7 separate regions of the Homo sapiens genome follow, and regions 1, 2, 3, 4, 5 and 6 are each linked to region 7. The links are contacts of gene promoters, found by promoter capture Hi-C in blood cells and fetal thymus (Javierre and others, 2016). All regions are on one chromosome and are shown on one strand. Each heading gives the region's core, a stretch centred on a gene start or on the middle of the fragment in contact. The rest is flanking DNA. Distances are from core to core; before and after follow the strand shown. Region 1 overlaps DLEU2 (deleted in lymphocytic leukemia 2). Region 2 has its middle 26 kb from the start of SPRYD7. Region 3 overlaps TRIM13 (tripartite motif containing 13). Region 4 has its middle 9.3 kb from the start of SPRYD7. Region 5 overlaps DLEU2 (deleted in lymphocytic leukemia 2). Region 6 overlaps SPRYD7 (SPRY domain containing 7). Region 7 holds the start of RNASEH2B (ribonuclease H2 subunit B).

What was found. Contacts are between HindIII fragments. The CHiCAGO score rates a contact against its expected background, and 5 or more counts as called.
Region 1: a fragment that was not itself captured here is called in contact with the fragment with the promoter of RNASEH2B in region 7 in 2 of 17 cell types (naive B cells and total B cells); the score reaches 8.1 in naive B cells.
Region 2: a contact is called between a fragment that was not itself captured here and the fragment with the promoter of RNASEH2B in region 7, in 11 of 17 cell types (total B cells, naive B cells, naive CD4 T cells and 8 more). The highest score is 12.0, in total B cells.
Region 3: a fragment that was not itself captured here is called in contact with the fragment with the promoter of RNASEH2B in region 7 in 15 of 17 cell types (naive CD8 T cells, naive CD4 T cells, total CD8 T cells and 12 more); the score reaches 22.4 in naive CD8 T cells.
Region 4: a contact is called between a fragment that was not itself captured here and the fragment with the promoter of RNASEH2B in region 7, in 1 of 17 cell types (total CD8 T cells). The highest score is 5.5, in total CD8 T cells.
Region 5: a fragment that was not itself captured here is called in contact with the fragment with the promoter of RNASEH2B in region 7 in 17 of 17 cell types (total CD4 T cells, naive CD4 T cells, naive CD8 T cells and 14 more); the score reaches 30.4 in total CD4 T cells.
Region 6: a fragment that was not itself captured here is called in contact with the fragment with the promoter of RNASEH2B in region 7 in 2 of 17 cell types (total B cells and erythroblasts); the score reaches 5.6 in total B cells.

Annotation. Positions count from the first base shown.
Region 1 is chr13:50,037,845-50,041,737 of GRCh38, forward strand. All of the region lies in intron 8 of DLEU2 (deleted in lymphocytic leukemia 2), which reads right to left. Among named protein-coding and RNA genes, the nearest start is that of MIR16-1, 9.3 kb to the right of the region's middle. The HindIII fragment of the contact is 6,162 bases long and covers 1-3,893 here.
Region 2 is chr13:49,959,932-49,963,842 of GRCh38, forward strand. No RefSeq gene overlaps it. Among named protein-coding and RNA genes, the nearest start is that of SPRYD7, 26 kb to the left of the region's middle. The HindIII fragment of the contact is 6,899 bases long and covers 1-3,911 here.
Region 3 is chr13:49,999,677-50,003,487 of GRCh38, forward strand. All of the region lies in intron 1 of TRIM13 (tripartite motif containing 13), which reads left to right. The region is part of intron 10 of DLEU2 (deleted in lymphocytic leukemia 2); the gene reads right to left. Among named protein-coding and RNA genes, the nearest start is that of TRIM13, 4.5 kb to the left of the region's middle. The HindIII fragment of the contact is 4,152 bases long and covers 1-3,489 here.
Region 4 is chr13:49,943,672-49,947,635 of GRCh38, forward strand. No RefSeq gene overlaps it. Among named protein-coding and RNA genes, the nearest start is that of SPRYD7, 9.3 kb to the left of the region's middle. The HindIII fragment of the contact is 7,532 bases long and covers 1-3,964 here.
Region 5 is chr13:49,981,036-49,985,408 of GRCh38, forward strand. It overlaps DLEU2 (deleted in lymphocytic leukemia 2), which reads right to left. Exons shown (of 14, transcript NR_152566.1): 14 at 1,514-2,719. Among named protein-coding and RNA genes, the nearest start is that of MIR3613, 13 kb to the right of the region's middle. The HindIII fragment of the contact is 1,154 bases long and covers 1,525-2,678 here.
Region 6 is chr13:49,916,730-49,921,046 of GRCh38, forward strand. The region is part of intron 4 of SPRYD7 (SPRY domain containing 7); the gene reads right to left. Among named protein-coding and RNA genes, the nearest start is that of SPRYD7, 17 kb to the right of the region's middle. The HindIII fragment of the contact is 2,530 bases long and covers 1,232-3,761 here.
Region 7 is chr13:50,907,522-50,911,642 of GRCh38, forward strand. It overlaps RNASEH2B (ribonuclease H2 subunit B), which reads left to right and starts at 2,270. Exons shown (of 11, transcript NM_024570.4): 1 at 2,270-2,619. The coding sequence starts at 2,556. It overlaps RNASEH2B-AS1 (RNASEH2B antisense RNA 1), which reads right to left and starts at 3,191. Exons shown (of 3, transcript NR_046552.1): 1 at 2,962-3,191. RefSeq lists silencers at 2,085-2,514, 2,525-2,764, 2,975-3,024. The HindIII fragment of the contact is 8,311 bases long and covers 1-4,121 here.

The DNA.
Region 1 (3,893 bases), core at 1,247-3,746, 870 kb before region 7:
AATAAAGAATAAACAAGTCTCAAGATTATTATTTTTTTTCTTTTTCAAGCAGGCTTCTCAGTACCTCTAGCCACTCCTCATGACATTCAAACACCTCATATGGTTTCCATTCTCTGAGTTCACTCTAGTTGGTTCACATTCATCTACATACTCTACATGTGGCCTGATATGAGCTACATACCAAGACTGCCAATTAACAATGGTCTGGGGGAACAAATGTTTATCAGCAAATAACAGTTTAGCCAAAATAAATAATTTGCATGCTAGCTTTGAAATTTGCTGAACCCTTACCTATAAACTCTTAATTAAATTCTCCAACTTGAGTATACAGACACCAAGACCATCTGGTATCATTGAAAATAAAGAAACATCAAAGGGATTTGGTTTCTTAATGAATAGAATATAGGGAGTATTTTAAAAGCATTACAATTTCTTCCTGAAGTTATACCTATGTAGAACTTTCTAGAAAGAACAAGTTACCCATTCTTAAAGCTCCAAATTCAGGCCAGGCATGGTGCCTCATGCCGTAATCTCAGCACCTTGGGAGACTGAGGCGGGAGGACTGCTTGAACCCAGAAGCAGACATGCCTGGGCGACAAAGTGAGACCATATCACTAACAAAAAATTCTAAAAATTAGCCGGGTGTGGGTGGTGCATGCCTGTAGTCCCAACTACTCAGGAGGCTGGGTGGGGAAAATCACTTGAGCCCAGGAGATCGAGGCTGTAGTGAGCCATGATTGTGCCACTGCACTCCCAATACAGCAAGACCCTGTCACAAAACAAAACAAAAAACCAAAACAAAACCCAAAACCGAAACAAACAAACAAACAAAAAGCTCCAAATTCCTCCGGTTTTGGAGGTTATCTAAACACATCTAAAAATCATTAATTCAAAAATGGCACAACAGCTTAACTACTATGGACCTGAGGCTTTGAGTCATTTTATTTTGAGACGGAGTTTCGCTTTTGCCCAGCACCCATTAAAATGCTGACAAAAGTGGTCATAACAGAGGGTTTGACTTCAAATCTGAACCATAGGCCTGTTTTGGCAGCAAACATCCTTCTTCCAAAATAGCCAGACTTTTAGACTTCCAAAATAATATAGTTTATTCTGTTAGCCCAGCTGTTTCTCTGGTTCTAAACTTTTTTTTTTTTTTTTTTTTTTTTTGAAACGGAGTCTCACTCTGTCGCGCAGGCTGGAGTGCAGTGGTGGGATCTCGATTCACTGCAACCTCCGCCCCCCGGGTTCAAGCGATTCTCCTGTCTCAGCCTCCCAAGTAGATGGGATTACACGCGCCTGCCACGTTTGTATTTTTAGTAGAGACGGGGTTTCACCACCTTGGCCAGGCTGGTCTTGAACTCCTGACCTCAGGTGATCCAAAATGCTGGGATTATGGGTGTGAGCCACTGCACCTGGCCTTAAACCTGTCTTTCTGAATGAAACTACTATTGCTCTTTTAAATTATAAAATTAGTGTGTGAGACAAATGGATTAAGACATATCATTTTTGCTTACATCATAAATGGGTCAAATTCTGACAAAAACATATTTATTATACTAGACAGGCCAAACATTTATTGAGCTTATTAGTGTCATGTTTACATTTTATAACCATGTTTAAAATGAAATATCCATAACTATTGGTTGTCATTAATAGTAAGAAATGTTTTTGAATATCCAATGTGAATTCCACAATTTTACAACAGCTCAGCTTTTTGATAAATGTAACTATTGAGGTACAAAAGAAGAAACAAACTCAAAATTTGATATACAGGTCTTAGATTTTTTTTTTTTTTTTTTCTGAGGCAGGGTCTTGCTCTCTCACCCAGGCTGGAGTGCAGTGGTGCCATCTTAGCCCACTGCAACCTCCACCTCCCAGGTTCAAGCAATTCTCCTGCCTCAGCCCCCCACCACGTAGCAGGGACTACAGGCGTGCACCACCATGCACGGCTAATTTTTGTATTTTTAGTAGAGATGGGGTCTCGCCATGTTGCCCAGGCTGGTCTTGAACTCTTGAACTCTGGTGATTCGCCAGCCTCAGCCTCCCAAAGTGCTGGGATTACAGGTGTGAGCCACCACGGCCAGATTTCTCTCTTTAAGCAAATTCTGACCAGTACACGTATTTCAGAAGTTATTTTTCTTACTCTCCTGCTCAGAATACTTCATGACCTCCCTTGCCTCAAATTGTTTTCACTATGAAAAGGTATCCTTGGGGATGACATGCGGATATGGTAGAGGAGGAATCCAGAGTAAACAAGATGCATCTTCCTGTATCCTCAATCTTGAGGAAAAATTCTAATCCTAGGCATTTTTACATTACAATACTATGGAATAGATATAAAGTTAGTGGTAATTTTTAGATAAAACTCAAATCTAAAGAAAATATTTCTGAGCCAGAAGCATAGCACTAAACCTCTTCTCTAGAGGAAATATAATCTTTCTAGTCCCTGGCACAGTAACGAATTGGATTGAGAAATAAATTCACTAATCCAAATATGCAACTAGAAGGGTGTATATATAAGGCTAATAACAACTGCTTTTGGATGATAAAAATGATTTTTAAATAATTTTTTTTTGCTCTTCCTGAGGTTTCTATGTCTATATAGTACTTTTATGCTACGAAAAATTAAACTTAACAGAAAAATGCTTAATTTTTGTATATGGAAGTTTCATTGCATTATCAAATCTTTATCACTATAAAATAAACCAGATTTGTATTTCTTTAGTTTGTTTACTAATATAGTTTCAAATTAAAAGAGATTTAAATATCCCTTTTCTTACACTTACCTTTTTTTGAGGTCTGGGGGGGCTTGAAGAGTGGGGAAATGACAGTGAAATCTCTCAACCACGAACTCAAGAAGTAATTCTTGAATTCCTTTTCAATATTACTTTGAGAACTTAAAGCACGCTGTTCCTCTGAAGCTGATTTTAAACTTATCTGATTTTGAAATTTTTCTTCCATGACAGTTAATTCATTATCATGTCTAAAGTTCCTCAACACAGTAGGATTCCCTTTTATAGGTTTCCAAAAGTAAATCATTATATGGATGTAAGGTTGCTTCAAATAATCACTTTTATTTTTCAAGGATTTCTCTCTCTCCTTTTCAAAAAACAAAGTTTGCCCATCACAGAAATCATACATGCTTATTTATAATCAAGAAGATTCCTCCCACCCCTATAAGATTTATCTCTCACCCAGAGTAAACCAGTAAAACAGTTTAGCATATGAATTATTCTGGTGAATCTATTCAACTATTTGATAATCTTTTACTTATTCAATAATGAACAGCTTTTTAGCTCATTAAATATTCACTTGCTATTTTAAGTAGCTGCACAGTATCCTACTGAACATGTTATTTCATCAGCCTTTTATTATTGAATGCTTTATAAACAATACCATAACAAACATATGGATTACTTCTTTAAAAAGTGTATCTGTTAATTGCTTTTACAATATTGGAAAACTGAGATAATTATTCTTTTAATGTTTATAAATCTTAAGGATATATTGTAACTGGTTCATACATAACTATTTGAAGAATTTAAAAAGTCAACTATATAACTTGTCAGCATAAAATTAATATCTGAACCTTGGGACCTGATGTTTAGGCTACTGTTTTGAAGTTTCTTAAATTTAACTTTTTTTTCATATTGCTAATACATTTAAAAGGTTAACCTATATGAATAAATGAGAAACAATGATAGAAACGTTATATACCTCAGGTGTGCGAAAGTAGAGAAAAAGGTTATGAGCTACAGGTATCATATGTTCATTCCATTGGAAGGATGGTTAATATTAGACTGTTAAGGTCAAGAAACAGTGCACATGAGAAATTCTGCCTTACTAAAAAAAATGTACAGGCATTAGTTGGGGGAGAACTGGAGTGATGAAAT
Region 2 (3,911 bases), core at 1,178-3,677, 950 kb before region 7:
AGATCTAAAAACAAGACCTAACTATATGTTGTCTACAAGAAACACATTTTATCCCAGGCACAATGGCTCACGCCTGTAATCTCAACACTTTGGGAGGCCAAGGTGGGCAGGTTACAAGGTCAGGAGTTTGAAACCAGCCTGGCCAACATGGTGAAACCCCATCTCTACTAAAAATACAAAAATTATCCAGGCGTGGTGGTGTGCACCTGTAATCCCAGCTTTTCAGAAGGCTGAGGCAGGAGAATTGCATGAACCTGGGAGGCGGAGGCTGCAGTGAGCCAAGATCACACCATTGCACTCCCGCCTGGGTAAAAGAGCGAGACTCCTTCTCAAAAAAAAAAAAAAAAAAAAAAAAAAAAAAAGGGAAAGAAAGAAACACATTTGAAATATAAGAACATATATAGATTAAAAGTAAATGGATGAAGAAAGATATACCATGCCTATACTAATTAAGAGAAAGTGGAAGTAGCTATATTAATTTTAGGCAGAGCAAACTTCAGAGCAAGGACAGATATCAGGGATAAGGAGGGAAATTACATAATGAAACAGCATTCAATACCCCAAGAAGACATAATCATTCTTTTTTTTTTTTTTTTTTTGAGATAGAGTTTTTCTCTGTCACCCAGGCTGAAGTACAATGGTATAATGGCACAATCTCGGCTCACTGCAACCTCTGCCTCCAGGGTTCAAGCAATTCTGTATCAGCCTCCTGAGTAGCTGGGATTACAGGCGCCTGCCACCACACCTGGCTAATTTTTTGTAGTTTTTAGTAAAAATTGGGTTTCACCATGTGGGCTAGGCTGGTCTTGAACTTCTGACCTCAGGTGATCTGCCTGCCTCAGCCTCCCAAAGTGCTGGGATTACAGGCATGAGCCGCTGCACCCCGCTGACACAATAATTCTTAATGTGTATTCACCTAACAGCAGGGCATCCAAATATGTAAGGGAAAAACTGATAAAACTGCAAGAAGACCTGGGTGAATCTACTATTATAGTTGGAGACTTTAACACTCCTCTAACAGAAATGGACACAGTCAGCAGGCAGAAAACCAGTAAGGACACAGTTGAATTCAACAACACTATCAATCAACTGTATATAATTGACATCTACAGAATATTTCATCCAGCAGCAGGCAGCAGATTACAATTCTTCTCAAAATCACATGGAGCATTCACCAAGACAGATCACATTCTGGGCCATAAAACACACCTCAACAAATATAAAAGAAGTCATATAGTGTCTGCTTTCAGACCTCATGAAATTAAACTAGAAATTGATATCAGAAAGATAGCTGAAAATCACAAATACCTGGAGATTAAACAACATACTTCTATTTTTTTTTTTTTTTTTGAGACAGAGTCTCACCCTGTCACCCAGGCTGGAGTGCAGTGGTGCGATCTTGGCTCACTGCAAGCTCCACCTCCTGGGTTCACGTCATTCTCCTGCCTCAGCCTCCTGAGTATCTGGGACTACAGGCGCCCGCCACCATGCCTGGCTAATTTTTTTGTATTTTTTAGTAGAGACGGGGTTTCACCGTGTTAGCCAGGATGGTCTCGATCTCCTGACCTCGTGATCCACCTGTCTCAGCCTCCCAGATTAAACAACATACGTCTAAGTAATATATGAGTGAAAGAAAAAGTCTGATGAAGAGAGTTAAAAATATTTGAAATAAATGAAAATATAACTTATCAAAATGTCTAAGATACAGCAAAAGCAGTGCTTAGAAATTTATAGTATTGAATACATATATTAGAAAAGAAGATTTAAAATCATTAATCCAGCTTTCAGCTTTTAGCTCAGAGAAGGCCAAGGTGCAACTTTCTTCAGTTGTCATGAATCTGAGTTCATACAACACCAGCCATCTCCACCATGCCATCGAAGAAAAAAGTAAAATAAAATAATTAATCCAATATTCTGCCTTAGGAAACTAGAAAAAGAAGAGCAAATTAAATCCAAATAAGCAGAATAAAATAAATGAAAATTATAGCAGAAATCAATGAAACTGGAAGCAGAAAACCAATAGAGAAAAATAACACGACCAAAATCTAGTTTAAAAAAAATCAATATAGTTGATAAACCTCTAGCCAGGCTTACTAAGAAAAAGAGAAGACACAATTACTAATATCAGAAGTGAAAGAGAAGCATCACTACAGATCCCATGGACACTAAAAGAATAATAAAGGAATATTATTAATAACTCTATGTCCACACATTTGATAACCTACTTAAAGACACAATCTGCCAAAATTAACACAAAAAGAAATCAATACTTTTAATAAACCTATATTGATTAAAAAAATTGGATTAATAACTAATAAACTTCCAAAACAGAAATCACCAGACTCACATGGATTCATTAGTGAATTCTATCAAACATTTAAGGAAGAAATTATACCAATCCTATACAATCTGTTCCAGAAGACAGAAGCAGAGGGGATACTTCCTAAATCATTCTATGAGGCTGGCATTACCCTAATATTCAAATTAGACAAAGACATTACAAGAGCCGGGTGCAGTGGCTCACACCTGTAATCCCACACTTTGGGAGGCTATGGTGGGAGGATCACTTGAGTTCAGGAGTTCAAGACCAGCTTGGGCAACATAGCAAGACCTCATCTCTACTTTAAAAAAAAAAAAAAAGTAGCTGGTATGGTGGCACACACCTGTAGTCCCAGCTACTCGGAAAGCTGAAGTGGGAGGATCACTTGAGCCCAGGAGATCAACCCTGCAGGGAGCTATGATCATGCCACTGCACTCTAGTTTAGGCAGCAGAGTGAGTCCTTGTCTCAGAAAAAAAAAAATACAAGAAAAGAAAACAATAGAGTAATATCTCTCATGAACATAGATTCAAAAATCCTGAACAAAATACTAGCAAGTTGAATCCAACAATGTAAAGAAAGAATTACACATCATGGTCAAGTGGAATTTATCCAAGGTAGGCAAGGCTAGTTCAACATTTGAAAATCAATTAATGTAATCCATCACAACAACAGGCTAAAGAAGAAAAATCACATGGTCATATAAATAGATGCAGAAAAAGCATTTGACAAAAAAAAAACATTTCATGATTGGAAAAACTCACAATAAATTGAGAATAGAGATGAACTTGCTCAACTTGATGAAGAACATCTGCCAAAAAACCTACAGCTAACATTATACTTCATGGTGAGAAACTTGAAGATTTTCTCACACTATCAGGGACATTGCAAATATGTCCCTTCTCACCACTGCTTTTCAACATCATACTGGAAGTCCTAGCTAATGCAAGAACACAAGAAAAAGAAATAAAAGGCATATAGATTGGGAAGGAAGAAGTAAAATTATCTTTGTTTGCAGATGACATGATTGTAGAAATCCAAAAGAATCAACAAACAACCCTCCTTGAACTAATAAGCAATTATAGAGGGTTGTAGGATACAAAGTTAATGTACAAAAGCCAATTGCCTTCTGATACACTGTAAGCAATGAACAAGCAGAATTTGAAATTAAAAACACAATACCATTTATATCCTTCTGAAAAGAAATAGGTATAAATCTTAACAAAATATGTGGAAGATCTATATAAGAAAAACTACAAAACTCTGATGAAAAATATCAAAGAAGACTTAAATAAATGGAGATATAGTCCATGTTCATGGATAGGAAGACCCAGTGTTGTTGAGATGTCAGTTCTGAACTGGATCTATAGATTCAATGCAATCCCAATCAAAATCCAGTCAAGTTACTTTGTGGATGTTGATAAACTAATTCTAAAGTTTATGTGAAGAGGCAAAGACACAGAATAGCTAACTCAACAATAAAGGAGAAGAGTTAGAGGACTGATAGTACCCAACTTACTAGACTTACTAGAGGTCCCGCATGGTGGCTCACACCTATAATCCCGACTACTCTAAAGTCTGAGGTGGGAGGAT
Region 3 (3,811 bases), core at 164-2,663, 910 kb before region 7:
TATAAAAATCCTAATTTTATGAAGGATAAAACTGGTGCTTGAACACAGGTACTCAAAAGCAGGTTCTGTGCTTTCCCCTTCACTAGAGAGCCTGTTAAACCTAGTTTGTAAAAACTGCAAAATTTTAGAAGGGATTTTAGAGAGCTTATGATTAAACCCCTTCATTTTATGAATAAGAATACTGAGTTCTTGAGTCCCTTTCTAGATATTGCTAAGGTCTAAGAATTAGAAAACTCAGGCTGTGATGCCTAGTTTGCTGTGTACAACTGATGAGTCTCCACTTCTTGAGTGCTGGGGGTGTCTTAGTTTTTTTGACTCCTAAAATTAGGTGTTTAGATGATTTCTAAGATGCTTTTAAGCCCAGTATTTCTATTCCTACCCCATAACTTTTATTACCATTTATTGCCTATACATATATATTGGTAAGACACAGATGCAGACTAATGTTAACTGCCTTAAACTTTTATATTTTAAACTCGGGTAGGTATGGTAACAAGTGTGTCTTATTGTTTTTTACTAAGTCCTATAAAACTATGGTTTTATTTAAGGTTAGGAACTGCATAGAGAGGTGGACCACTCTAATACATCATTGGTTAGAGTTCATAAAGTGATATAAACCCTTTCTAGAGAGAAACCTAGTCATCTTTTCAACAGCCTTAAAAATGTCCTTACTGTTTGACCCAGAAGTACATTTAAAGGAATTGTCTAAGGAAGTAATTAGAGCTGTGGAGCAAGACTTTTCTCTATAAGGTGTTTACCTAAATGTTACAATACCAAAAAAACACAACAACCCACAAACAAAACAACACAGCAACAAGAACAAACCCATAAATGAGCAATAAGAAAGCATATCCACAACATGGACTGTCATGTTTTTCTAGAACATATCATGATGGGGGAAAGGCATGTAATAAAATAAGGGGATAGGATACAAAATTGTATTATGCTACCAGTTCTGTTAAAATGTGTGCACATGCACGGACACATGGGATTGGAATAAAGACACCAAAATAATAGTAGTGGTGATTTCTTGCTGATGTGATTATGGGTGGCTTTTTCTCTCTATTTTCTGAATTTTCTATAATAAAAACTAATTTTATAATTTAAGAAGACACAAAAGCTAGTTGCATGGATAACTTCGGTTTCAGTATGGTGTCAATATTTTATGGTTTTAATTGTGGTAAGAACATTTAACATGAGACCTATCCTCTACACAGATTTCTAAGTGTACAGTACAGTGGTGTTAACTATAGACATGAGCAGATCTCTGAAACTTACTTTTATGTGTCTTTTATAAACTATTTATCATACCTTCTAGAATAACAGCACCTGGCCGGGTGCAGTGGCTCAGGCCTGTAATCGCAGCACTTTGGGAGGCTGAGGTGGGCGGATCACCTGAGGTCAGGAGCTCGAGACCAGCCTGGCCAAAATGGTAAAACCCTGTCTCTACTAAAAATACAAAAAATTAGCTGGGCATGGTGGCAAGTGCCTGTAATACCAGCTACTTGGGAGGCTAAGGCAGGAGAATCACTTGAACCCAGGAGGCGGAGGTTCCAGTGAGCCAAGATCACACCATTGCACTCCAGCCTGGGTGACAAGAGCAAAACTCTGTCCCAAAAAAAAAAAAAAAAAAGGCAGGAAAGAGTCCAGGCTAAACTATGGTATGGAGAAGAGAATGAAGGAAAAGGAAAAAGTTTTTCTTAGTGCTCTGAACTAGCGAGGTAATGAGTGACCTGGTTTATATTTCTGAGAATTTCACCTTAGTCTGACAACCCTTTGTGAACTTTCTGAGTAAGTGAACTTACCAAGCTAGTGAACATTCTGTACTAGCTCTATTTTGCCTTGTCAGGATCTCTGCTAGAAATATCTTGGAAATTTTAACTACTGTTTATTCTAGGATAATGCCAGAAAAGGTTGGTTACTTACTGTCTTATATGGACACATAGGTAACTTTTATATTGTTTGCAAGAGCCACATAACAATTATTTTAGATACTATATGTAATATATTAATTTTCATTTTTAGAGGTATTGAAATCTGATATTTCTTACTTTGTCCTGTTTTGATCATATATATGCCAGAGGTGCTATGTGTAATACATTAATTTTCATTTTTAGAGATTATATCTGAAATCTGATCTCTGTATCTTACTTTGTCCTGTTTTGATCATATAAGTCACCGGGACAGTCTCTAAAAGAATGAAGAGTAATAACACATTGATACAGAGTATTTAAAATAAAAACTTTGTAAATACTTTTCATATACCTTTTAAAATAGCTATACAAATGAGGAGAGAAACTAGTATGTATAAGTGGTTTGTCAGAGGTTACAGACTGAGAGCCAGACAAGTATGTCAGTCTCCTCACAGGTCTGGATTCAGAGACTTCCAGTAATACATTAAAAAAAAAAATTTATGAAAGATGAAACCATAGGCTGGGCATGATGGCTTATGCTTGTAATCCCAGCACTTTGGGAGGCCAAGGCAGGAAGATACTTGTGGCCAGGAGTTTGAGTCCAGCCTGGCCAACATGGCGAAACCCCGTCTCTATTAAAAACATAAAAATGAGCCTGACGTGGTGGCAGGCACCTGTAATCTCAGCTACTTGGGAGGATGAGGCAGGAGAATTGCTTGAACCCAGGAAGAGGAGGCTGCAGTGAGACGAGATCGCACCATTGCACTCCAGCCTGGGTGACAGAGCAAGACTGTCTCAAAAAAACAAAAACAAAAACAAACCATACTACAGCAGATTAAACTTCTTATGAGGCTTATATTTAGCTAATGTTTTCAAAGTTTTACTTTCTAAACTCAATATGGTTTTTTAATAATTGGCTCTTTAGTTTTTCCACCCATTTTATTGTGAAAATGTTCAAACAGAGAAAACTCAAGAAGAATATTAAAGTATTCTTACATCCTCTACCTAGATTTTAATAGTTGTTAATTAGACCCTTACTTAGTTTCAAGAAAACATTTATTAATGGATCTCTCTTTTTTTTTTTTCTTTTTGAGATGGAGTCTCACTCTGTCATCTAGGCTGGAGTGCAGTGGTGCGATCTTGACTCACTGCAACCTCTGCCGCCTGGGTTCAAGTGATTTTCCTGCCTCAGCCTCCCGAGTAGCTGGGATTACAGGTGTCTGCCACTGCTCCCGGCTAATTTTTGTATTTTTAGTAGAGACAGGGTTTCACCATCTTGGCCAGGCTGATCTTGAACTCCTGACCTCATGATCCACCTGGCTCAGCCTTCCAAAGTGCTGGGATTACATGCATGAGCCAATGCACCTGGCCTAATGGATCTCATACTACAGTATAGTAAGGTGCAGTGGCTCATGCCTGTAGTCCCAGCTACTCTGGAGGCTGAGATGGGAGAATATAGTACACTATTTGAAAATAAGATTAACTAGTGTGCTGAGAGGAAATGATTTTTTTTAATGAGCCATTTTATTATAGGAATTATTTCAAAGTAACATTTGTGGCTGTCTCAGTTCAGTAAAGCTTAGCATAATTTAATGTCTATGAAGTGAGTTTCAATGTTTGCTGTCTAGCCACCTGATAGATACTTAGGTACTGTTTTGAAATTCTTGCCTTCAAAGATGCCTCAAAACAGGATGGAAATTTGAGTTAAATCCTTAAGATAAAAGCGTGATATATTTATTGGCTTTTCTTTTTGTTCCCTAATGGGAAATGAAAAAAAACAAAAAACATGGGTAATATTTTGAACAACTTTATATTGCTAACAGCCAGTGGAATTTAAAACCTTAGTAGGAAAGTTTCTTTTACTAATAGGTTTTATAAGGAGAAAATGAACTTTTGTT
Region 4 (3,964 bases), core at 688-3,187, 960 kb before region 7:
GACGGGGTTTCACCATGTTGGCCAGGATGGTCTCGATCTCTTGACCTCGTGATCCACCCGCCTTGGCCTCCCAAAGTGCTGGGATCACAGGCGTGAGCCAACACACCCGGTCAAGTAAATACATTCTAATTACACCTCATTTCATCCACAACCCAGAAAGTAGTATGTAAACTGAATTCTTAGAAAAACATTTCCACGTTAAATGCACTAGGGCAGGTTGCCGTATAAAGGAATTCTATAAACAATTTTTTTTTTAAGAGATAGGGTCTCACTTTGTCACCCAGGCTGGAGTGCAGTGGTACAGTCATAACTCACTGCAACTTTGAACTCCTGGACTCAAGCTGTCATCCTGCCTCAGCCTCCCAAGTAGCTGGGACTAAGGTGCCTGCCACCACGCCTGGCTAATTTTTTAAATTTTTTGTAGAGATGGGGGGGTCTCATTTTGTTGCCTAGGCTGGTCTTTAACTCCTGGCCTCAAGTGATCCTCCTGCCTCAGCCTCCCAAAGTGCTGGAATTACAGGCATGAGCCACCGTGCCCAGCCACAGATTTTTTAAAAATAACAGTTTTATTGAGATATAATTCACATATCATAGAATTCAACCTTTTAAAGTATATGTTTAATGGTTATAGAATGAACCATTGGTTTATAGAATATCACTGAGTTGTACAATTGCCATCGCCCCAAAAATAAACTTAATATTACTAGCAGCTACTTTCCATTCCTCCCTACTCCAGCCCCTGAAAACCACTAAGTTACTTTCTGACTCTGTGGGTTTACCTATTCTGAACATTTCATATAATTGGAATTGTACAGTATTTGGTCTTTTTCATTATCTAACTTCTTTCACTTAATATGACGTTTTCAGGGTTCATCCATGTTATAGTATCTATTCCTTCCTAATACTTTATTCCTTTTTATGGTTAAATAATATTCTACCATATGGATATACCATATTTTGTTTATCCATATATTTATTGATGGACATTTGGGTTGTTGCTATTTGGCAATTATGAGTAATGCTGCAAGGTTTTTGAGTGAACATATGTTTTAAATTCTCTTCATTGTATATCTAGAAGCAAAATTGCTGGATCGAATAATGACTCTATTGTTTGAAGAACTGACAAACTTTTTCAAAGTGGCTGCGCCATTTTACAATCCCACTAGCAATGTACAAGAGTTCTAATTTCTCTACATTCTTGTCAGCACTTGTTATCGTCTGTCTTTTTTATTTTAGCCATCCTGGTAGGTATGAAGTGTTATTTCATTGTCTTTTTGATTTGCATTTCCCTATTGACACACAGTGCTGAGCATGTTTTCCTGTGCTTAGTGGCGATTTGTATATCTTTTTTGGAGCAATACCTATTCAGATCCTTTGTCCATTTTTAAATTGGGATATTTTTGTTTTTGTTGTTCTTGAGTTGTAAGAGTCTTGATATATTCTAGATATAAGCCACTTATCAGATAAATGATTTGCAAATATTTTCTCCCATTCCATGAGGTGTTTTTTTACTTTCTTGCCTTTGAAGCACAAACATTAATTTTGACAGAGATTTATTTATCTGTTTTTTTTTTGTCACCTGTGCTTTTGGTACTTGTGATGGTTAGTTTTATGTGCCAACTTGACTGGGTTAAGGGATGCCCCATAGCTGGTAAACATTATTTCTGGGTATTTCTGTGAGAGTGTTTAAATGAAAGATCAGCATTTAAATCAGTTGACTGAGCCAGGCATGGTGGCTCACACCTGTAATCTCAGCACTTTGGGAGGCTGAGGCAGGTGGATCACTTGAGGCCAGGAGTTCAAGACCAGCCTGGCCAACATGGCGAGACCCTGTCTCTATTAAAAATACCAAAAAAAAAAAAAATAGCTGGATGTGGTGGTGGATGCCTGTAATCCCAGCACTTTGGGAGGCTGAGGCAGGTGGATCACTTGAGGCCAGGAGTTCAAGACCAGCCTGGCCAACATGGCGAGACCCTGTCTCTACTAAAAATACAAAAAAATTTGCTGGACATGGTGGTGCATGCCTGTAATCCCAGCTACTCGGGAGGCTGAGGCAGGAGAATTACTTGAACCTGGGAGGTGGAGTTTGCAGTGAGGTGAGATCACTCCACTGCCCTCCAGCCTGGGTGACATAGTGAGACTCTGTCAAAAAAAAAAAAAATCAGTAAACTGAGAAAGTTGATGTGCCCTCACCCATATGAGTAGGCATTATTCAATACATTGAGGGCTCAAATAGAACAAAAAGGTGAGAGAAGAGCAAATTCCTTTTCCCCCTTCTGGTATGCCATCATCTTCCCTCAGCCATCAGTGCTCCTGACTTGGGCCTTTGACCTTGGAGACTTACACCAGCATGCTCCCCCTCCTCAGGGCTCAGGCCTTAGGGCTTGGATTAGAAGCCACACCAGTGACTCCCCTGGTTCTCGGGTTTTCAGACTGGAACTGAATTACACCACCAGCTTTCCTAGGTCTCCAGATTGCACACAGCATATTGTGGGACTTCTCAGTCTTCATAATTGAGTGAGCCAATTCCCATAGTAAATCTCCTCTTATATGTCTGTATGTATTTTATTGGTTTTTTTCTTTGGAGAACCCTGACTAATCAGTGTTATATCTAAGAAACCATTATTTAATCCAAGATTAGAAAGATTTACTCCTCTGTTTTCTTCTAGGAGTTACATGCTTTTAGTTCTTACAGTTAAGTCTTTGGTACATTTTGAGTTAATTTTTGCATATGGTGTGAAGGAGTTCAACTTCATTCTTTTGCACATAGATATCCAATCATCTCTGCACCAGTTGTTGAAAGGACTATTCTTTCCCCTGTTCGATTGTTTTGCCACCCTTGTTGAAAATTATACAAGACTTTTTATAACTTGAATTAACAAAGATTTTGACTACAAAGAATAATCATTCTTAGTTTAATCTTTGTAAATAGGGATAGTCAGAAATCATACCAAGATTTTGAAAATACCTGTATGGATGATTTATGGTTGGAAATACCACTGTGAGTTTTTCTATTGACTATTCATTTTATAGTTACTTTTGTAAAAGCCAGTAGTAAAGCCAGCCAGGTGCGGTGGCTCACGCCTGTAATCCTAGCACTTTGGGAGGCCGAGGCAGGTAGATCACGAGGTCAGGAGATCGAGACCATCCTGGCCAATATAGTGAAACCCCATCTCTACTAAATATACAAAAAATTAGCCGGGTGTGGTGGCACACGCCTGTAGTCCCAGCTACTTGGGAGACTGAGGCAGGAGAATGGTGTGAACCCAGGAGGCAGAGGTTGCAGTGAGCCGAGATGGTGCCACTGCACTCCAGCCTGGGTGACAGAGCGAGACTCCGTCTCAAAAAAAAAAAGAAAAAAATTGTTTTATGACCTCAAGATCTTTGGTTTTTTTTTTTTTTTAGTATTTTATTTGTTTTAAGGATTCCTACAGAGTTAGCTAACATGGTCCATGTTCATTTCAAATGTATAAATCACCCACTTCAGTATTTTAAGTTTATAAAAATCTTTAAATGTGTAAATCAAAAATAAAATTCTAAGACCCCTTCTTCCCCCAGCTGTCTGAATGGACTCCCTCTTCTCAGCCAGAGCACTCCAAAGTTAGCCTGAAAAACTGGTTCAGGCCATGATGGGAAGAGGGGGATCAGACATGCATCATTATGCCCTTCTCCTTTTTGGAATTCAGGAAAAGCTGACCAGCATTAACATCGACACAGACCTTAAGTCTGATAAGAAACATTTACAATCTATTCTGAAACCTGCTACCTGGAGGCTTCATCTGCATGATAAAACTTTGGTCTCCACAACCTCTTATGTAACCCAGACAGTTCTTTCTATTCATAGTAACTCTTGCAACCAATTGCCAATCAGAAAATTTTTTTCTACATGATCTACATGTAACTGGACCCCCCACCCTTGGAGTTGTCCTGCCTTTCTGGACCGAACCAGTGTATATCTTAAATG
Region 5 (4,373 bases), core at 852-3,351, 930 kb before region 7:
GGCTACAGGTGCATACCACCACACCTGGCTAATTTTTAATTTTTTGTAGAGATGCAGTCCCGCTATGTTTCCTAGGCTGGTTTTTTGTTTTGTTTTGTTTTGTTTTCTGAGATGGAGTCTTGCTCTTTTGCCCAGGCTGGAGTGCAGTGGTGTGATCTTGGCTCACTGCAACCTCTGCCTCCCGGGTTCAAGTGATTTTCCTGCTTCAGCCTCCTGAGTAGCTGGGACTACCAGCGCCCACCACTATGCCTGGCTAATTTTTGTATTTTTAGTAGAGTTGGGGTTTCACCATGTTGCCCAGGCTGGTCTCGAACTTCTGACCTCAGGTGATCTGCCCACCTTGGCCTCCCAAAGTGCTGGGATTACAGGTGTGAGCCACCGTGCATGGCTGCTAGGCTGGCCTTGAACTACTGGCCTATAGTGATCCTCCTGCCTCAGTCTCCCATAGCGTTGAAATTACAGGCATGAGCCACCACTCCTAGCCCAGAGTGATCTTTCTAAACTGTATATCAGATGATGTGCTCTCCAATGGCTTCTCTTCATATTTAAAATAAAACCCAAAGTCTTTTCCAGGACTTACAAGGCCGTACCTGATCTGGCTCCCCATTGCTGCATGCAAACTCTTCATTCATTCATTCAACTAATATTTACTGAGGGCCTGCCATGTGCCAGACACTCTTATAGCTGCTAGCATATTGCTTCTGTACAGAGCTCACATTCTAGTGGGAGGAGACAGTAATCAAAGAAATACAAAGTATGTCAGGTGGCGATAAGTGGCATGGAGAAAAATGAAGCAGGAAAGGAGACCAGGGAGTGCTGTGAGGCAGTGAGAGGCCACCATTTGTAATAGGATGGCCAGGAAGACTTTCCCGTGAAGGTGACATCTGAGCAGAACAACTGAAGGAGAGGAAGGAGTGAGCCAGGTAGACTTTGGAGGAAGAACATTCTAGGCAGAGGGAAAAAAAAATGCCAAGTTGCTAAGGAAGAGGCGAGTTTGGCATGTTTGAGGAATAGCAAGGAGGCCGATGTGGCTAGAGTAGAGCGCACAGGCAGAAGTCAGAGATGGCTTGGCCATGGGTTGGGGAGATGGCAGACCTGTAGGAATCTGTTGGCTCCCAACCAAGGGACTTGGACTTGGACTAAGTGGGTGGGAAGCTGGGGAAGGGATGTAAGCAGAGCAGTGATATGATTGTGTAGAAGGACCATGTGGCTGTAGGGAGACAGGCTCAGCATCAAAGACAGAAACAATAAATCATGGTGGCATGGGCTAGAATGGTGGCCATGGAGGAAGAGAGAAGTGCTCAAATGTTGCTGAATGAATAGTGAATAAATGAACTTGCTCAATGATGGAGTCAAAATGCACATGCAGCAATCTGACTTGAGCTGCCTTGCTCTTAGTAAGGGTGAACAAAAACTAGGAGAGAGGGGCTGCTGCAGCCCCCTTGGAACTTTCCGGCTCTGAGATTTTAGCAGCTTTCCTTCTGTGGGGTATGCAGGGAAGAAGGAAAATACGCCTATAATGGAAGCTTTATTGGAAAAGGCAGAAGGTAGAAAAACATCTGGAAGGACAAAAAGCCCACCAGGCAACCAACCAGTCAACCAGTAACAATGTACAGGCTTGAGATTGGGGTATTGATCAATTGCCACTTAGGCCACACATAATCACTACCACACACAATCACTATGTGTGATTTTTTTTTTCCCTCAAGAGAATGTATTAAAAGGAATGCTTCGGAATTAAAAATAAAAATTTTAAAAATTACCCCTTTTAAAAATAAACTGAATAATTTGTAAAACTATGGAGAGTATGGTGATGAACACAAAGGCTATGACTTTAAGTCACCTTTTCTGGGAAAGCAACTGGTTTAGAAGATTAAACTATGCAAACAAAAGGCAAAGATTCTGGGCCGGGTACGGTGGCTCACGCCTGTAATCCCAGTACATTGGGAGGCCAAGGTAGGCAGATCGAGACCATCCTGGCCAACATGGTGAAACCCCGTCTCTACTAAAAATACAAAAATTAGCTGGGCGTGGTGGCACGTGCCTGTTATCCCAGCTACTCAGGAGGCTGAGGCAGGAGAATCACTTGTACCTGGGAGTCAGAGGTTGCAGTGAGCTGAGATTGTGCCACTGCACTCCAGCCTGGCCACAGAGCCGGACTCCATCTCAGAAAAAATAATAATAATAAAAAATTTAAAAAAGATTCTGGGCCGGGCGCGGTGGCTCACGCCTGTAATTCCAGCACTTTGGGAGGCTGAGGCGGGCAGATCACGAGGTCAGGAGATTGAGACCATCCTAGCTAACACGGTGAAACCCCGTCTCTACTAAAAATACAAAAAATTAGCCGGGCGTGGTGGCAGGCACCTGTAGTCCCAGCTACCCGGAAGGCTGAGGCAGGAGAATGGCGTGAACCCAGGAGGCGGAGCTTGCAGTGAGCCGAGATCATGCCACCGCACTCCAGCCTAGGTGACAGAGCGAGACTCCATCTCAAAAAAAAAAAAGATTCTGAACCATCCATTCTCTGGGTTGCACTTAAATTTTTGGCTTCATTAGGGATGACTTGGAGCTGCTATGCTTGTCATGCAAAATATATTCCTCCATGTTATTTTCCATTTGCTAATCAGTTGGATCCATTTGAGTCAAACTGTGCCTTTGTAGACTTGGTTGCTTCTTTTGGAAGCTTCTTTCAAAGTTTCTTTCTTTAGTTGCTTCTTTCAAACTAGGTTACAGAAACAAGAGCTGAATTAGACAGCTGCAGAAAGCAGATTTCTACTTTCAAATTTAAGATGAAAAATATGAATATTGAGAGTATTTCTTTCATGTTGAAATCAAGCAACTTTCTTGGTAAAATTCTATTTCTTAACGCAGTCAGTAATTGGTGGGTGAGGTGACCACATGCCCTGAGGAGGCAGGTAGGCCCATCTAGAGCAGGAGCTGGGCTCATGCAGATGGATCTTTGACCCTACCTCTGTTCCTCATAGTTGGATGACCCTGGCCAACTCACTTCACCCTGTTACTTTCCTTATCTGCAAAATTCATGTCTCCAAAATTCCCTTGTGGGGTTGCTGTGAGGATGAGTTGAAATGATGTGTGTGGTGTCACAGCATGATTTCCTTGATCCATGGAAGTTATTAAGTTGTTGGCAGTCCACTTCTTGCTTTTGTGGAGTTGTATTTTTGTTCTAGCTCTTTTGTTCACAGACGGGGTGACTATGTAATTTATCATCCAAACTGGGAATTAATAAATGAAAATGAAAGACTAAGTGGAGGAGAGTCTGGGCTCAAAGGTGTGGTCAGGACTCTTCCCAGGCAAACCTGAACATGTATGGTCACCTTCCCTAATACTAATGCGTAGTCAGACTGAGCAGCCTGTGGGAGAAAGCTGGCTGCCATCATTCTGCCACTCACTGCTGGAGGGACAACAAGGCAGAAGCAGTCTGGCGGGCCAAGCTAGACCTTGTCTGTGTCGGGAAGACTTACATCATGTGCTGGTAAAGAACTAACAACTGCTGGGCACAGTGGCTCATGCCTATAATCCCAGCACTTTGGGAGGCCAAGGTGGGAGGATTGCTTGAGGCCAGAAGTTTGAGACCAGCCTGGACCACCTAGTGAGACCTTGTCTCTACAAAAAAAAAAAAAAAAAAGTTAAAAAAAAATTAGCTGGTCCTGGTGACATGCACCTGTAGTCCCAGCTACTCAGGAGGCTGAGGAAGGTGGATCACTTGAGCCCAGGAGTTAGAAGCTGCAGTGAGCTATGACTGCACCACTGCACTCCAGCCTGGGCAACTGAGCAAGACACTGTCTCAAAAAATAAAAAGACTAACAACCTGGTCTTTGAAAAATATTGAGTGGCCAGGCACGGTGGCCCATGCCTATAATCCCAATGCTTTGGGAAGCCAAGGCGAGTGAATCACTTGAGGTCAGGAGTTCAAGACCAGCCTGGTCAACATGGTGAAACCCCATCTCTACTAAAAATACAAAAAATTAGGGTGTGGTGGTGGGTGCCTATAATCCTGGCTACTCGGGAGGCTGAGGCAGGAGAATCGCTTGAACCCGGGAGGTGGAGGTTGCAGTGAGCTGAGATTGGGCCATTGCACTCCAGCCTGGGCGACAACAGTGAAACTCCATAAAAAAAAAAAAAAAGGAAAAAAGAAAAAGAAAAAGAAAAGGAAAAATTATTGAGTGAAGAAGCCTCTTCCCTTCCTCCCCCACCACCTTATAATTTGGCAAAGGGCCTCCATCTGTGGGGCCTAGATTGTTTTCTAGGAGATAAAAATAGCCAGCATGTGTCAAGATAGCATCAAACCTGCAGGGGCAGGTGAGGACTCCAGAATGGGGTTATAAGCAGGTCTTTTTTTTTTGTGAGCCAGGCTA
Region 6 (4,317 bases), core at 1,247-3,746, 990 kb before region 7:
GGGATGGGGCTTAGAATGTTTATAAGCACTGAAGAGGGAGGCCCATGACATGAGATATCGATGAAATAACTGACAAAGTGACGTTCCAGATTTGGGGAGTTTGGAATCCAGACTACAGATAGAGTGTTTGCAACATGCAGAGTACCACTTCTGGGATGAGATGGAAAGAAGGCAGGATTGGACCTGAAGAGAGGGAAGCTGGAGTTCACTTGTGATTGCCTGTTTTTTTTGTAAGGTAGAAGGCAAGGCATTTTCAGAGGATGAATAGAGAATGCAAGAAGCACAGAATGCATAGACATGCACAAAGAATTGCTGAAAATTATTGAGAGCTCAGATTAGGCTAGAAGTCATAACTTTGTTTTTTTTTGTTTTGTTTTGTTGTTTTCTTTTTTGAGACAGAGTCTCGCTCTGTCACCCAGGCTGGAGTGCAGTGGCATGATCTCGGCTCACTGCAAGCTCCGCCTCCCCGGTTCACGCTATTCTCTTGCCTCAGCCTCCCAAGTAGCTGGGACCACAGGCACCCGCCACCACACCCAGCTAATTTTTTGTATTTTTAGTAGAGACGGGGTTTCACCCTGTTAGCCAGGATGGTCTCAATCTCCTGACCTCGTGATCCGCCTGCCTCAGCCTCCCAAAGTGCTGGGATTACAGGCGTGAGCTACTGCGCCCAGCCAGGAAGTCGTAACTTTGTAACCACACTTCTTCAGTGTTATGCAGTCTTTTTCTTTCTACAGGCTGAGTGTAAGAAGAGACAAAATGAATGATTGGATTGATCAAGGATTAGGGATGGAAGACAAAAGAGTAAAGGGATTTAAGTTTTATGTTTATCTTTGATAGGATCAGGCTATTAAAACACTTGGTTTAATTGGACTGATTTATGAGTTCAATTTATGAAATATAATTTAGTATCTATAACCTTAGTACATTACAAATAATGCTGAATAAAAGAAACAGTTTAGAGCATTAAACTTATTTGCTACAGTTAACTTGTATAACTGTCACTCTACTGATATTTATTTTATTTCTCAGGCTAACCTATTTCAAATATCAAGCTAAATTTCCATTTACTCAAGTAAATAAAGGAATTGCTTTTAGGCTTACCCAATATGCAACACTAAATTGAGTTTTAAAACACACATTTACATGCAAGGACACAGAAGGTAAAATGACTGAAAAGTAATTTTAGGAGAAAAGAAGGCTAATGAAAACCTTAAACTAAAAGGTAATCACAAGCTTTGGCTATTATCATATTATTATTTATATTTGTTATTGTATAATTCTGACATCCCAGTTTGTCATCATTGATACTGCTATTTTTATTTTAGTATTTTAATTTTATTTTGCTTTTGAGACAGGGTCTTACTCTGGTGCCAAGGCTGGAGTGCAGCGGCACGATGATCACTGCTCACAGGAGACTTGACCTCCCCGGCTCAAGAGATCCTCTCAGCTCAGCCTCTCAAGTAGCTGGGACTACAGGCACGTACAACCACACCTGGATAATTTTAAAATTTTTTGTCGAGACGTGTTCTCACTATGTTGCTCAAGGCTGGTCTTCAACTCCTGGACTCGAGCAACTCTTACCTCAGCCTCCCAAAGTGCTGGGATTACAGGCATGAGTCATTGCACCAGTGCTGCTTTTATAGTAAACTACAACAAATGTAATTAAATTAGTTCTTTTTTTTTTTTTTCTTTTTTTTGAGATGGAGTCTTGCTCTGTCACCCAGGCTGGAGCACAGTGGTGTGATCTCGGCTCACTGCAACCTCTGCCTCCTGGGTTCAAGTGATTCTCCGCCTCACCCTCCTGAGTAGTTGCGATTACAGGTGTGTGCCACCACACACGGTTTCACCATGTTGGCCAGGCTAGTCTTGAACTCCAGACCTCAAGTGACCCACCTGTCTTGGCCTCCCAAACTGCTGGGATTACAGGCATGAGCCACCGTGCCTGGCCTAATTAGTTATTTTTCTTTCTTTTTTAATTTTATTTTATTTTATTTTTTTTTGTGGAGACTAAGTCTTGCTCTGTCGCCCAGGCTGGAGTGCAATGGCATGATCTCGGCTCACTGCAACCTCCATCTCCTGGGTTCAAGTGATTTTCCTGTCTCAGCCTCCCATGTAACTGGGATTACAGGAGTGCGCTACCACGTCTGGCTAATTTTTTGTATTTTTAGTAGAGATGGGGTTTCACCATGTTGGCCAGGCTGGTCTCAAACTCCTGACATCAAGTGATCCACCGGCTTCGGCCTCCCAAAGTGTTGGGATTATAGGTGTGAGCCACCACGCCAGTCCTAATTAGTTCTTATTATAACCCAAATTTAAGAACTTAAATGAGAAAATATTTTTAGACTTACAAAACCAAAGGCAGAAAAATCATATACCTGTTTACTTAAAGTTGATAATACAAAATAGGCTGGACACGGTGGCTCATGCCTATAATCTCAGCACTTTGGGAGGCCGAGGTGGGCAGATCACTTGAGCTCAGGAGTTCGAGATCAGCCTGGCCAACATGGTGAAACCCCATCTCTAGTAAAAATATAAAAGTTGGCCAGGTGCTCACACCTATAATCCCAGCACTTTGGAAGGCCGAGGCGGGCAGAACAGAAGGTCAAGAGATCAAGACCATCCTGGCCAACATGGTGAAACCCCATCTCTACTAAAAATACAAAAATTAGCTGGGTGTGGTGGTGCGTGCTTGTAGTCCCATCTACTCGGGAGGCTGAGGCAGGAGAATCGCTTGAACCTGGGAGGCGGAGGTTTCAGTGAGCCAAGATCGTGCCACTGCACTCCAGTCTGGCGATGGAATGAGACTCTGTCTCAAAAAAAACAAAACAATACAAAAAAACCCCAAAAGTTAGCTGGGTGTGGTGATACACACCTGTAATCCCAGCTACTCTGGAGGCTGAGGCACGAGAATATCTTGAACCCAGGAGGCGGAGGCAGCAGTGAGCCAAGATCACAACACTGCACTCCAGTCTGGGTGACAGAGTGAGACTCTGTCTCAAAAAAAAAAAAAAAAAAAAGTTGATAGTATAAAAAATAAAGCAGAATGGATTGATAAAGACATTGTGGTTATGTTTTTCTAAAAAAAAAAAAAGAAAGAGACCTTTTTTTCGAGATACAAATAAAACATTTATGAATAAAATTATATATTACCTGGCATTTGCCTCAAAATAACCCAAGGAGGGTAAGTGAAGAACAATAGCAGCATTGGGGGTGGGGGGGTGTAGATGAAACCCGATTGGTTACAAGTTGATAATTGTTTGAAGCTGGCTGATGGGTATATGAGGGTTTATTATACTATTCTTTTTACTTCTGTACATGTTTGGAATTTTCTATAATAAAAATTAAGGTAGGCCGGATGCAGTGGTTCATGCCTGTAATCCCAATAGTGGTGCACACTTGTAGTCCCAGCTACTGGGGTGGCTGAGGTGGGAGGATTGCTTGAACCCAGGAGTTTGAGGCTGCAGTGAGCTGTGATCGGGCCACTGCACTCCAGCCTGGGGGACACAGCAAGACTCTGTCGCAAAACAAAACAAAACAAAACAAAACAAAACAAAAAAACAAAAAATTAAAGTTAAAATTAAAATTCTAAGTCACTATTTCCCTCAGAAGAGCATTAACATTTAAGGAATTTTGTAAGGGTTATTAATGTACAGTCTACATAAAATTCCCATCTCTAATTCCAAAATATTATTTATAATTATGTTTCCTGGCCATGCAATCATTCCCAATGACTTGCAGAAAAAGTTTTCTAAATTCAGTAAAGCTTTTTGAAACTTTCTAAAACATAAAACTACATGTTGAAAAAGGGAGTACGGTTATTGCATATTTAAGTGTAATCATTGTATTTAGCAAGTTTATTTTAATACATGGGGAACAGAAACTATCCTTAATCCTGCAAAGTGGGATTGTAATATCCTACCGACTACAATCCATATAAAAAGGTCCTTATGGCTGGGCACGGTGACTTATACCTGTAATCCCAGCACTTTGGGAGGTTGAGGTGGGTGGATCATCTGAGGTCAGGAGTTTAAGACCAGCCTGGCCAACATGGTGAAACCCCATCTCTACTAAAAATACAAAAAGTAGCCAGGCGTGGTGGCAGGCACCTGTAATCCCAGTTACTCGGGAGGCTGAGGCAGGAGAATCGCTTGAACCCAGGAGGCGGAGGCTGCAGTGAGCTGAGATCGTGTCACTGCACTCCAGCCTGGGTGACAGAGTGACACTCCGTTTCAAACAATAAATAAATAAATAAAATAAAAAGGTCCTTATTAACAATGTGTCCAGATTTCTAGATGATAGCTATAAAAGTAACATACA
Region 7 (4,121 bases), core at 1,020-3,519:
AATAATTTCCTGCATCTAAATTTTTTTCTTTAGATACAAAGCATCTGTTTGTATATGTACACCAATCACTGTGTCAAACTGCTGTATACATAGCCCATATACAATACACATGGTAGCATTATTTATAATAACAGTTTGAAATAACCTAAATACTGCACACTAGGGAATGGATAACTAACCCTAGTACACCAGCTGTGTTAAATATCATGCCTTCATTAACAATGATACTTCTCGATATGAAGGGGCACATGCTTATGACAATGTTAAGTGAGAAAAGCAGACAAAACAGTCTAAATTGTGACAACAACCACAAAAATATACATTAATACAGCCAAGGGCTAGAAAGGATCAGAGAAAAATGAAACAGGTATGTATGTCTGAGCAAGGGAATCATGGGTAACATTTCTCATGTACAGTAGCTCCCCCTATTCGAAGTTTCGCTTTCCAAGGTGTCAGTTACCCCCAGTCGAACTTGGTCCAAAAATATTACACGAAAAATTCCAGAAACAATTCGTAAGTTTTAAATTGTACAGTGTTCTGAGTGGTGTGAAGAAATCTTGCACCATCCAGCTTCGTCCTGCAAAGGACCTGAATTCTACCTTTGTCCAGCGGATCCACACTGCAGAAGGTCCCCTCCTTATGAGTCACTTAGTAGCTGCAAGAGTAGTGATGCTGGCATACTGTGAGAATTGTTCTATTTTATTATTATTGTTGTTCATCTCTTACTGGGCCTAATTTTCAAATTAAACTTTATCACAGATATACATGCAAAGGAAAAAACAGTATATTAGGGTTTGGTACTATTTGCGGTTTTAGGCCTTCACTGGGGGTTTTGGATCCCATCCTACAGGAATAATGGGGTGCTCCTGTAGCTGTTAGTAAGACGATGGTGTGCCTGGGGATTTGTGCTATACACCACAGCATCTTCTACAGTCGTTTTGGGGGAGAGGGAAGATCAGAGCAGTACCAATCTGCTGCTCCTTGCCCCAAAACTGGCAAGAGGCGCCTTTCCTCAGCCAGAAAGGCCTCTTCTCCACCAGCTGTGTCCTGCAATCAACTGCAGCTGTATTGGTCTCACCCCATGGGAAACAGGTTTGAAGTTAAAAACCTTTTCAGAGGGCCGAGATAAATTTAGTGCTGCTAAATTTAACTATCTTCAAGATTAAACATGAAAAGCAAAGTGCATGAGTTATGTATATTATTCTTTCAATTGTGCAAAAATAAGACATTAACTTGTTTTTGCATGGAAAAATTCTGCAAGAATAGAGAAGAAATGTTAACAGTTACCCCTGGGATCTGGGATAAAAGAGATACATCATGCTTTTCTTTAAAAAAAAAAAAAATAGGTTTTTGTGGATTTTTTTGTTTTTGTTTTTTTTGACAGAGTCCAGCTCTGTAGCCCAGGCCAGAGTGCAGTGGTGGGATCTCGGTTCACTGCAACCTCCATCTCCTGGGTTCAAGTGATTCTTGTGCCTCAGCCTCCGTAGTAGCTGGGATTACAGATGTGCACCACCACACCCAGCTAATTTTTGTATTTTCAGTAGAGACGGAGTTTCACCTTGTTGGTCAGGCTGGTCTCCAGCTCCTGACCTCAGGCGATCCGCCCGCCTCGGCCTCCCAAAGTGCTGGGATTACAGGCCTGAGCCACTGCGCCTGGCCCGTGCTTTTCTCTAAAGTATGAAAGGAATATGTACTTTCTTCTTAAAAACCATGTACCAAACAACACTTTTCAATTAAAATGTTATTTTTAAAAGTTTAAATCCCCAAATTTCATGGCTCTAACTTTTTAAACATCACTTTTTAAATAAATGTCTAAGTTTTTAACTCAGTATACAGCGTTCTCCAAAACAACAAATTCATATTCTGAGCCCAAAACTGTGCACCTCTTTTAGTGATGAGGACGGAGTCCAAATTGAGGACATCCCTTGTAGCTCACAATGCACACATATTCTCACATCAATAGCAACACAGAATGCAACTGATGACCAATATATATTCACAAATAATTGAGGACCATGGCTAAGAGTTGCATTCGGATTCCGATGTGACTGCTATTGTCCTTAACACGGACTAGCTCCAGGTGAGTCCCCCGGCCCCGGGGGTGTGGCGGGCGTCACCCGTTGTCCGGGCACACACCCCGCAGACCCAATCCTAGCCCGCTGGCTAGACCATGGAGGGCCGCTGGGTGCAGCCACAGAGCGCGGGGCCCCGGCGACCCCGCCCCGCTCCGCGTCACTCGGCGCCCTGCGGCGCGCGATGAGCACCTACCACTAGCGGAGCCGCGAGGGAGAGGCCGCGGCCCCTTCCCGTTGCCTGCGGCCACCGGCCGGCATTCAGAGCCCCTCGCCTGGCGCTAAATTTAAAAACGTAACACGAGCAGCAGGCTGGTCTCGGAAACGAAACGAAATTCGGTCCCTGGGCCTCCTCCCGGGCGCTGCCGGTCCCTCAGCGCGCCGCGCCACCCGGAACAGACCCTTCTCCCGCCATTTTCGGCGGGGCTGGGAGACTGAGGCCCGCGGCGCTGAGCCTGCGGCGCCCCGGAAGAGGCGGGCGGCATGGCCGCTGGCGTGGACTGCGGGGACGGGGTTGGCGCCCGGCAGCACGTGTTCCTGGTTTCAGGTAAACACGCGCGCCCGGGCGGCGGGGTCGGCCCAAGAACTGGCGGAGCGGCCCGCGACCCCGGGCGCGCCGCCCCCCACCCCGGTGGCTCCCACTACCCGGCCCGGCGCGGGATGGGATTCTCTCTGGGACAGCTGGCCCCGCATTTTGGTCACACGTCATAGCAAGCCGCGGTTTTCAAACCCGGAAGCGCCGAAAAGGACCGAGCGTGTTTCCCGGGCCCTGATCCCCGGTGGCTCGGGTGGGAGGGTGGAAGCCGACTCAGCCTGAGGGGAGCCACGCGGGTTCGCGGTCACCGGTGCGCTGCGGGCCCCGGAGGTTTCTGCCCTTGGTGTCCCCTACCTGGCAGCTGGCCCTGCTTCTGTGATCCTACTGGGTTGGAACCAGGGATCCAGTAGGCTCGAAGTGGCCTCAGACGGTGCGCAGTTTTAAGAAAGCAAAGGGACAGGCCTGCAGTGGCGAGGCAGGAGGGAAGCGGGATGGGAGTCGCGGTTAGGCCAAGGGTAGTTCAAAGCGATTCAGCAGGATGATGACCACAGGAGTGCTGGAGCCGGGCCTTTCAGCCCCCGTGTGGATGATGACCGGCCATCCAGGACATGCGAGGGCTTGGGACAGTGGACAGCCAGTGCCACACAAGGAAGGACCGATTAAATGACACAGTTAAAGGAATTTGGCCTAGGGAGTGCAAGCCAGAAAGGTTTGGTCTTTTTATATATGTAACATTGGAAAAAAGGAACATCTCCTGTTCCCTGTATTAAGTTTTGACTTTAGCTCAGCAAATGCAGTGTTTGTGGCAGTAAATATACTCTGATAACAATATTCTTTCCCAGGAATTTAGAGTTTTATGATGGTTATTGAAAATGTTTACATGACAGGCTGTCAATAATATTTTTTGCCTCTAAAAATAAAACATACATAAAGTGTACGGATTTTAAGTATGCAACTCACTGAACTTTTCATACGTATACACCACCCTAGTAACCATCCCCCAGTTCAAGATGTAGACTGTTTCCAATAACGCCTCATGCCTGTTCCTAGATAGCCCCAGGAACCTCTATGCTGACCTCTGTCACCAGAGATTAGTTTTGCCTGTTTGAATAAGAGTGTACCCTTTGTGTCTGGCTTCTTTCACTCTGAAAGATTCATCCTTGTTGTGAAATTCATTCATGTTGTAGCAGTTGTTTGGTTGGTTGGTTAGTTTTTTCATTGCTGCTTCTGTTTAATTGTATGAGTATCCATACTATGTATCTCTACTGTGGATGGACATTTGGGTTGTTTCCAGTTTGCAACTATTACAAGTTACACTTCTCAGAGCATTCCTTTAGGCGGCTTTTGGTAGACATGGGCACTCATATCTCTAGGGTGTATACCCTGGAGTGGAATGGCTGGTTCTAGTACTTGTGTGTAGAGCTGTAGTTGACAATGTTAAATGGTTTTCCAAAGTGGTTATACTGATTTATATTCCCACAAGCAGTGTATGAGAGTTCCCATTGCTGCACATC